Regions from separate parts of the Homo sapiens genome. Here region 1 is linked to region 2. The links are contacts of gene promoters, found by promoter capture Hi-C in blood cells and fetal thymus (Javierre and others, 2016). All regions are on one chromosome and are shown on one strand. The core of a region is centred on a gene start or on the middle of the fragment in contact, and the rest is flanking DNA. Distances in the headings are between cores, read along the strand shown. Region 1 overlaps ATP6V0D2 (ATPase H+ transporting V0 subunit d2). Region 2 holds the start of RBIS (ribosomal biogenesis factor).

The links. The method cuts DNA at HindIII sites, captures the fragments that hold promoters and counts their contacts. A CHiCAGO score of 5 or more calls a contact.
Region 1: a contact is called between a fragment that was not itself captured here and the fragment with the promoter of RBIS in region 2, in 1 of 17 cell types (monocytes). The highest score is 6.0, in monocytes.

The regions. Positions count from the first base shown.
Region 1 is chr8:86,124,975-86,129,544 of GRCh38, forward strand. All of the region lies in intron 2 of ATP6V0D2 (ATPase H+ transporting V0 subunit d2), which reads left to right. Among named protein-coding and RNA genes, the nearest start is that of ATP6V0D2, 28 kb to the left of the region's middle. The HindIII fragment of the contact is 392 bases long and covers 1,741-2,132 here.
Region 2 is chr8:85,218,670-85,223,207 of GRCh38, forward strand. RBIS (ribosomal biogenesis factor) reads right to left here and starts at 1,705. Exons shown (of 4, transcript NM_001099673.3): 1 at 1,637-1,705. LOC124901969 (a long non-coding RNA gene) reads left to right here and starts at 1,878. Exons shown (of 4, transcript XR_007060985.1): 1 at 1,878-2,456. It overlaps LOC105375936 (a long non-coding RNA gene), which reads right to left. Exons shown (of 3, transcript XR_929126.3): 3 at 3,758-4,184. RefSeq lists enhancers at 1,181-1,952, 1,562-1,691, 2,002-2,241, 2,725-3,494. The HindIII fragment of the contact is 10,198 bases long and covers 1-4,538 here.

The DNA of each region.
Region 1 (4,570 bases), core at 687-3,186, 910 kb after region 2:
GAGAAAAGGTGGCATGAAGGAGGTGATGCCCAAGCTAAGGCTTGAAAGGCTAAGCGTTTGTAGGTGGACATGGCTGGAGAGAGGCAAACAGCAGAGAGAACAGAAAACACAGGCCCCACCACTACTGTTGTTGGGTTGCTGATGCCACATGTCAGCAAAATCAGCGTCTGAGGTTGAGGATGTTAAGGTAATGGATGTGAAAGAGCTTAGGATGCCATCGCTACAACAACAGTTTTGAGTGGGATACAAATCAGTACCAAGGTGGGCTTGGGCAACTGTATGGCAAGGCATCAATCAACCACCAGGAGGCGATATTGATCCCAATAACCTGTTTTCCAAAACACTACTCCTTCCCCAGTTGTTTAGTTTAAGAGATTTGAGACTGTCCCATAACCTTCATTTTCAGGATGGAGACTGAAATCCACACTTATCCATTGTCCTAGTTTTATTTTAACTTGTTTATTTTTTAACTGAAAATAAGCACGTGTGTTTAAAAAATGAAAGAGGTTTTTTACTAAAATGTATTTTGTGCTCACTACACAAGTTAGTACCTTTATAATCACTTTCCTGTATTAAATTTAATAGATTTTCACAGCAACCCTATGGAGTGGTACTAGTATTGTTGGCTTTTTAGAAATAAGACGATGGATTGAGTAAAGACTATACTTCAGAATTCATGTCACAGAGCCCAGAGGTAACCACTCAAAACTTTCATGCATATCTTTCTAAACTTTTTCCTTGTGAAAAATGTTTTTTTATATGTGCATGTGTTTATATTTAAACACAAATATAAATATGCATAGTTGGGCTTATTGTTTGTTTTAGAACAGTGAGATCATACATGTATTGTCCACAATTTGTCCTTTTAAAATGTAATCTATTATAATTTTTGCATAAATATATAAAGATATATTTTATTTAATATATTTTTAATTTATGTATTATTTACTTAATTTAATTCATTAACTTATTTGTTTTTCTGAGACAGAGTCTCACTCTGTCACCCAGGCTAGAGTGCAGGTGTGTGATCTTGGCTCACTGCAACCTCCACCTCCTGAGTTTTAGTGATTCTCCTGCCTCAGCCTCCTGAGTAGCTGGGATTACAGGCATGCACCATCATGACCAGCTAATTTCTGTATTTTTATAGAGACTGGGTTTTGCCATGTTGGCAAGGCTGGTCTCGAACTCCTGACCTCAAGTGAGCCACCTGCCTCAGCCTCCCAAAGTGCTGGGATTATAGGCGTGAACTACCGTGCTCAGCCTATATATATATATATATATATATATATCTTTTTGTATATAGTATAAAGTTCAGGTGTACATGTGCAGGATGTGCAGGTTTGTTACTTAAGTAAACGTGTGCCTTGGTGGTTTGCTGCACAGATCATCCCATCACCTAGGTATTAAGCCCAGCATCCGTTGGCTACTCTTCCTGATGCTCTCCCTCTCCCACTCCCCTATAGTTATTTATTATCTGTAAATAACTATGTTTGAAATGAACATGTAAAACGACTTACTCAAAAGCACACAGCTCTACAGTGGCAGAATTAGTACTGGAATCCAAGCCTTATGTCACACTAAATATGTATTAAATATTTGTGAATGAATGAGCTAACTAGTCCTTATGTTCATCACTGCTACTGCCAATGTATATAGAAAATTTATTTCACCCCAGGATAAATATAAATACAGAAATTTAGAAAGAAAAAAGATATCACCTCTAGCTGGAGACAATTGAAAAGCTTCATGAAAAATATGATACTAGAATATGGCCTTAAAGGATTGGTAAGGAAGGGAAATTTTATACCTCTGGAGAAGGGTAGGAACCAAGACATTAATGTAGAAAAGGACAAGTTAAGTTTGAAGAATTTTTAATCTAAACAGTTGGGTTAGACCAAGATTGTAGAGAATCTTAAATACTGAAGAGGTTTCTTAAAATTCCAGAGCAACCAAGGGCTTGGGAAATGCAAAGTTATCAGCATTCTTGTTCTAAAATATGCTATTATGGCAATGCTGACTTGTAAGTAACTTTTCAGTATTTTATTTTGCTTCAAGGAAAAACAAGTGTGACAGCAAAATTGTTTGCTTTTTCAAATTATTTTAATTTTCACTTCCTCTATTTAAAAAAGGGAAGCTTCAGAGAAGGAAGAAATGTTACCAAAAATGTGAAATTTTAAGAGAGAGAAGAATGTTTATGGGGATATTCTAAATTCAGCTGACTAGGAAATCACGCGATATGACAGGGTTTCCCCATGTAAGCATATGTGGTTAGTGCTGGATTGAACAAATCCACAGTATAACAAAAAATGTTTACCAATGTAATCAAGGAAAACTTTCATTTGAAAATTCATACATTGAAAAAGTGTGAAATATATTTGGTGTACTTTTATAAATTATTTAATTCCTCAATGAAACTCGTAAATGAAAGGTGCCTTTCACACACACACACCGATCCTTTCCATGAACAATGACCCCTGAAATGCTTTTTTTTTTTTAATTGAGACAGGGTCTTATTCTGTCACCCAGGCTGCAGTGCAGTGGTGTGATCATGGCTCACTGCAACCTCAGCCTCCTGAGTAGCTGGAACTACAAGCAGTCACCACCACACCCAGCTAATTTCTGTCTTTTTTGTAGAGAGGCACCTTTGCCATGTTGCCCAGGCTGGTCTCAAACTCCTGAGCTCAAGCGATCCGCCTGCCTTGGCTTCCCAAAGTGCTAAGATTACAGGAATGAGCCACAGCTCCCAGCCTGAACATGCATTATATGTCCCTATCCTTGTACATTCTGTATGTATAATTGTTACCTAGCCAACATCTCACATAGTTCTCTGGTCACCTAAAACAAAATGGTTGTCATTAAGAATTAGATTACATGTTGCAGATGAAGGATGTGGATCTGGCCTCCTAGGTAGAAAGGAAACCTGTAGCAATCAAGGCCTGATAAAAGGATGTGGCTTTCTGGGCCAGGCACAGTGGCTCATGCCTGTAATCTCAGCACTTTGGAAGGCCATGGTGGAAAGATCACTTGAGCCCAGCAATTAGAGGTTGTGGTGAGCTATGATTGCGCCACTTGGGTTTGGATGACAAAGACCCTGTCTCTAAAAAAATAAAATAAAGCTGGGCAGTGGCTCATGCCTGTAATCCCAGCTCTTTGGGAGGCTGAGGCGGGCAGAGACCAGCCTGGCCAACATGGTGAAACCCTCATCTCTACGAAAAATACAAAAAATTAGCCGGGCATGGTGGTGGGTGCCTGTAATCCCAGCTACTCAGGAGGCTGAGGCAGGAGAATCACTTGAACCTGGGAGGTGGAGGTTGCAGTGAGCCAAGATCACATCATTGCACTCCGGCCTGGGCAACAAGAGTGAAACTCCATCTCAAAATAAATAAATAAACAAACAAACAAACAATAAAAGGGATGTAGCTCCTGTGATCAAGCCAAATATTAGTCACAATGTGTGTACACAGTGAAGCTGTTGTCATCACCAAGTTAAATGTTCTCTCAGGCCCAAAGGACAAAGTTCAGACTGAGTATTGAGGTACCTCCATCTAGCAAAGGGGCTCAGGTCTCTTTACAGGAAAGCTGTTATCAGTTTTGACAAACAGTTGGCAAGCAATGTTTTGAGATTACTGATTACATTTCCAAAGAAGTAATATTGAACTTTTTGAAGTTCGGATAACTTAAAGGAAACATCATATAAAATAATGACCACACAAAGACAACTCTGGGGTTACAAGATACAAAACAAGATGGTAATAGGTTTTATGAAATAGGTGTAAATCAGACTTGAGGGCTAGTATCTTAACACTATTGAGTAATACGATTTATGGTCTTCTTTTTTGGTGTCCCAGCCTTCCAAATGACTGTATCACTCAGCTTCTTGTCTTCACACCACAACTGACATGATAATCTCCTATTATCTAAGAGCAATAGGTAAATTTAGAAAGAACTCTCTTAGCTAAAACTAAATCCAAAACTACAGAGATGAAGAAAGCTCAGGCTTACCTCAACTAAACTTTTCAAATGTTTTACATTAAAGATGATGTGGCTTATAATTTCCTGCAAAGTCCAGTTTACAGGAAAATATCTTCTTCTAACAGTGTATGTCCTCCTTTATCCAAGGCACTCTACGAGTGCTTTCATATGTGTTACTAAGCCTGATGCCAACCATTCAAAGTTGAATGAATATTTTCATTTCAAAACTGAAGAAACTGAACTCTTAGGGTTTTTAAGTTGCAGAGCTGGGCTTAAATCAGGTTTATCTGTTTCAAAGCCTGGGCTCCTACTGTGACAACTTCTTTATGATTTACAAACTGCTTTCCTATGTGTAATTTGATTTAGTGTGCACAGCGACCCTGTGAAGACAGTAATTGTCTACTTCTTCTCACCCTGTGATGCCAAGTTTGTTGAAAAGAATAATCTGGCCAGGCATGGTGGCTCATGCCTGTAATCCCAGCACTTTGGGAGGCTGAGGTGGGAGGACTGCCTGAGCCCAGGAGTTTGAGACCAGCCTAGGCAACACAGGGAGACCCTGTCTCTATAAAAAAGGAAAAAAATTGGCCGGGCACAGTGT
Region 2 (4,538 bases), core at 455-2,954:
ACAAATACAAAAATTAGCTGGGCGTGGTGGCACATGCCTGTGATCCCAGCTACTCGGGAGACTGAGGAAGGAGAATCGCTTGAATCCGGAAGGCGAAGGTTGCAGTGAGCCAAGATTGCACCAGTGCACTCCAGCCTGAGTGACAGAGCAAGACTCTGTCTCAAAAAAATTAATTAATTAAAAAATAAAGTTTAATTGGAATACAGTTATGTCCATTCAATCATATGCTGATATGGCTGCTTTCCTGCTATAACTATGACCCACAAAGTCCAAAATATTTAGTGTCCGACCTTTAACAGAAAGTCTGCCAACTCCTGGCTTAAGCCATCTGCACAGTGGCTATCTGGCACCAAGCTATGCGATCGACCTTCCCAATGTTAAAAACCTTCAACAGTTTTCCCAATGTATAAGGGGCAACGTGCCTTGGCTTGGCATATTACTGGCACTCTGAATCTACCCTAAATCTGCCACACATATCTCCTGTTACGTCCCTATAAACACTGCTCTAGCCAGCCTGGTCTAACTGTTCTCTTGCACAGACACCTTGAACATTCTTCCTTTTTTACCTTTGCTCAGTCGTAGTCTTGACTGAAATTTATATCTTCCTTCAATGTAGCCTTACTACATTGTAAGTAATTAAGGAACTACTTAACTGAAACAGCAATGCTTTTGAACGCCAACAGTATTCCTCCTACTTAAAAAAGAATGCAGTAGAAAATACATGGTTATTACAGAAGATGCAAAAAATAAAATACACATAATAAAACCCCTCAAATGAAGTACTCTAAAATCATTCCAAGCCGGGCGCGGTGGCTCATGCCTGTAATCCCAGCACTTTGGGAGGCCGAGGCGGACGGATCACTTGAGGCCAGGAGTTCGAGACCACCCTGGCCAACATGATGAAACCCCGTTTCCACTAAAAAAAATTAAAATTAGCCGGGCGTGGTGACGCGCGCCTCTAATCCCAGCTACTCGGGAGGCTGAGACACGAGGAGGCGGAGGTTGCAGTGAGCCGAGATCACGCCACTGCACACCAGCCTGGGCGACAGACTGAGACTCAGTCTCAAAAATAAATAAATAAAAATTAAAATAAAATAATTACAATAGTAACCAAAATCCAATCATTCATCTAGTATAAATCAATTGCTATATGCCACGTGTGGTAGAGAACCTATATTTTATACACAAAAAATATATATGGAACATAAATAATGACAGTATATATACGGAACATACACAGACATGATAGGTATATTGTACATGACACTACCTATAATATACACATGGACCATGAACAGACAGTCTACAAGTGGAGAGGTTTACTAGAGCTGTAGACCTGAGCAAGGTTCGTGGAGAAAGTAATACACTAGTGGGGGTGTGCGAGTGGAGGGAAATTCTCTGAAAACCACGTAGAAACTGATCATGAAAGACACAGCCCAAAACTGGGACCCCGTCAGGAGATGAAAGCCCAACAAGCACCGGGGTTTCGGGCCTGCTACCCAGTAGGGCTGCCTGAGGCAGAGCGCGACGGAACCGAGCCTACAGGCCACAGCGGTACGAGACCGGCCCAATCCAACCCCGACCCCTGCAAACTTCACGCCAGCCCTCCAGAAAACTTAATTTATTAAACTCTCACCAGAAGTTTAACACTTGCGTGCAGCTTTTTAAGCTCCAGGTAACACCATCTGGCACGTACGGCGTCTAGGAAGTTCCGGGGAGGATGAACCAGTCAGGATTCCGCTCACGAGCCGTAGCTCCGCCCACCGAACGGAGCCCCGTCCATAGGCGGAAGTCCCGCCCATAGAGTGAGTTCCCACCCACCTGGCGTAGTCCCGCCCATAGAGCCAAGTCTAAGGAGCAAGGTGCAGTGAAAAAGCGAAGCCCCACCCATAGAGCGAGGTTCGGAAGTCCAGTCTCATTAGCATCCCTTGTCTTCCGCGGTGTTGCAGACTTATCCTCAGCTCAAGCGAGTTTGGGGCGTTATGGAGCCAGCCAAGTCTCCCCTTGCTGGCGTGGGTACTTGTGCAGAAACTTCCCGAGGTGCTTCTGAGACTGCACAGTGAAGACCGCCGCACCGGAGGTCAGCGCTCCGCCGCGGACTCCCGGCTGACTCTGCCACTCTCCCAGGAGGAGGCGCTGTGCACCTCTGGGTGGTTTCCAGGGCTCGGCTGGCGGTAGAGGGAGCCTTGAGGTTGGAAAAGATCTAGAGCTATAATCTCCGAAAGGAAGATTTGTAATGCACTGCGAGTTAGAAATGTTTTTCTCACTGCAGCTTCCTTGTTTCAAAAAGAGAATTTTTGACAGCACTGCAAAGGCACAAGAAACCAGGCACAGTATAAAATATACAAATAAAACAGGTACCAAGGAACTTAAAACATTCAACCCATAACGTCGTCTAGGTTTTTCTGCTTTAAGAAAATTGACTCAATTCTTCCAAGAGAATAACCCTATTAAAGGTAAGTTTTCACATGTGCCTCTATTTATTTTGTTGAGGTCATAGGAAAAGCTGGATTTCAAACAAACGTAGATGTAAGAATTAAATAGAGGAGAGAAGCACGAAGGGTGGCTTTATAGTCAACAGGGACAGGTTTATTTTAAATAAACCTGAGACTGGCAGCTGGCCAAGTTAGGTCAGAGCCACACTCTCTTACAGACTAAGAGTTTTTAAGGATTCAGGGTGGGAGAGTTTAACAGAGGCTTGGACTGCTTCTGTGTCTCTTTGCTGTGCTTATCTGGGAGGGAGAGTTGTGTGTCTGTTCCCATACATCTTTCTGCAGCTGCAGGCATACCCGCAGCTAAAAGTCTGCTTTTAGCTTCCCTATCTTAGTACACCTGAAGGGAAAGGAATGTGCTTATTAAGGCCCACTGTTTCACTGGGGCTCATTGTATGAGGGTGAGGTTTGGTAGTTAGCCAAGAGATTTTCCCCCTACTTCACTCTGCCTGAGCTGTCTTATCTGTGTTTTACTGACTGCTCTTTCTATCTGCTTGTAATTAGAAGAGAAGTGATTTCCTTGAAATTCATGAGGCTAGAAAGGGAGCTGGAACTTAAAAATGGCGGTGTTTGTCCGAGATGACGGTGCTCCTGCTCTGTCAGTAAAACTGACATTTATATGCCATTTTGTAGCTTACAAAAGATTTCAGCCTACACTATGCTCAAAATAAGGTGATAAAACCACTCCTGTTTTGCAAGTGATGATACTACTAAGGTTCAGAGTTTAAGCCGTGTGCTGGCAGCCACACAACTAACTAGAAATTGACAAAGCCAGACGGTTTTGTAAAACTAAGCATTTTTTTAAAACAGTTTTTAAAAAGGTTTTGTAAACTTGATAATTCGCAAATCCACATTGGTTAGCACTTGGTCAAGTCCTCTTTCCAACAAACCAGGCACTTGCCTGCTTACAGAAAGATAAGCAATTTTTGCAATAAATCATTTAATTATGCCCATCACAAAAAAAATTAAGGAACAGAATATACTAAGGGGAGAGGAATAATTGCTTGCCAATGTATGTTTATTCAAACTTTTGTATTCTTTCTGACGATCCACCTGTTAAAAACACCTAAAAATGCTGGTATAAAATGCCCATAAAGTGTAAGAGCAAAACAAAAACAGAAAACCGTTAGACTTTTTTATAAGGCCAGAGTTATTCACAAATACTGAGGTGAATAAGTTGGGTACAATTATTTGGTTCTTTGAATGTGAGGCTATTGATATATATATACAGAAGGCAAAGAAATAAATGTAACAGAACGACATTACAGTGTTTATGAAAACTGGTAGGTCTCACTTTTATTTTGAAGTGGCGAAATAACATGGTTATTCAGGCAAGAGCAGAGGTCTGAGTGAGGAGGCCTGGGTTTTTGGTTTACCTCTCCCACCAACCAACCGTGTGATCTTGGAAAAGTTACTTCATTTCTCTGTGCCTCCCTTTCCCATATGCATGTAGATAGTCATTATACCCACTTCAGAGAACGTTGATTATCTGCTCAGCATCCCTTTCTGGATAACCACTCTTCTCCGATCAAGTTGTCCTGGTTGAGCTGATAACTACAGTCCTCCTCTAAGGATTTTCCAGCTAGAGCTGGTGGAAAATGCTGTCTCTTGCATTTGGTGTCTTTGTGCTGGGATGATATAAAATCAAGGCTACTAGTGGCCATCTCCTCCAGCAACTTGGAAGAAGTCTTCCTGCAATGAGAGCAACACACACAAGAAGACAGAACTGAACAGACCAGAGAACTCTGATGCAATCATTTGAGTCCTTGGATTCAGCCATAGATGGAAGAAAGATCCATCCCTTCATTTTTCAAGTACCTGAGCTAAAATATTACCTTCTTTGAGCTTAAACTACTTTGGGTTGTTTTTATTTTATTTTTTAGTCACTTTAACCTGAAAGAGTCTTGACTCCACTCCTGTCCTACCTACTTCACAGGATTATTGTGCAGAGTTAGTGAAATATAAAACATGAAAGCATAAAGTATTACTAAAACAAAAGAAAGGATCATGTTAATTTTCTAAGAGCCATATTTACCCATGTTCCAA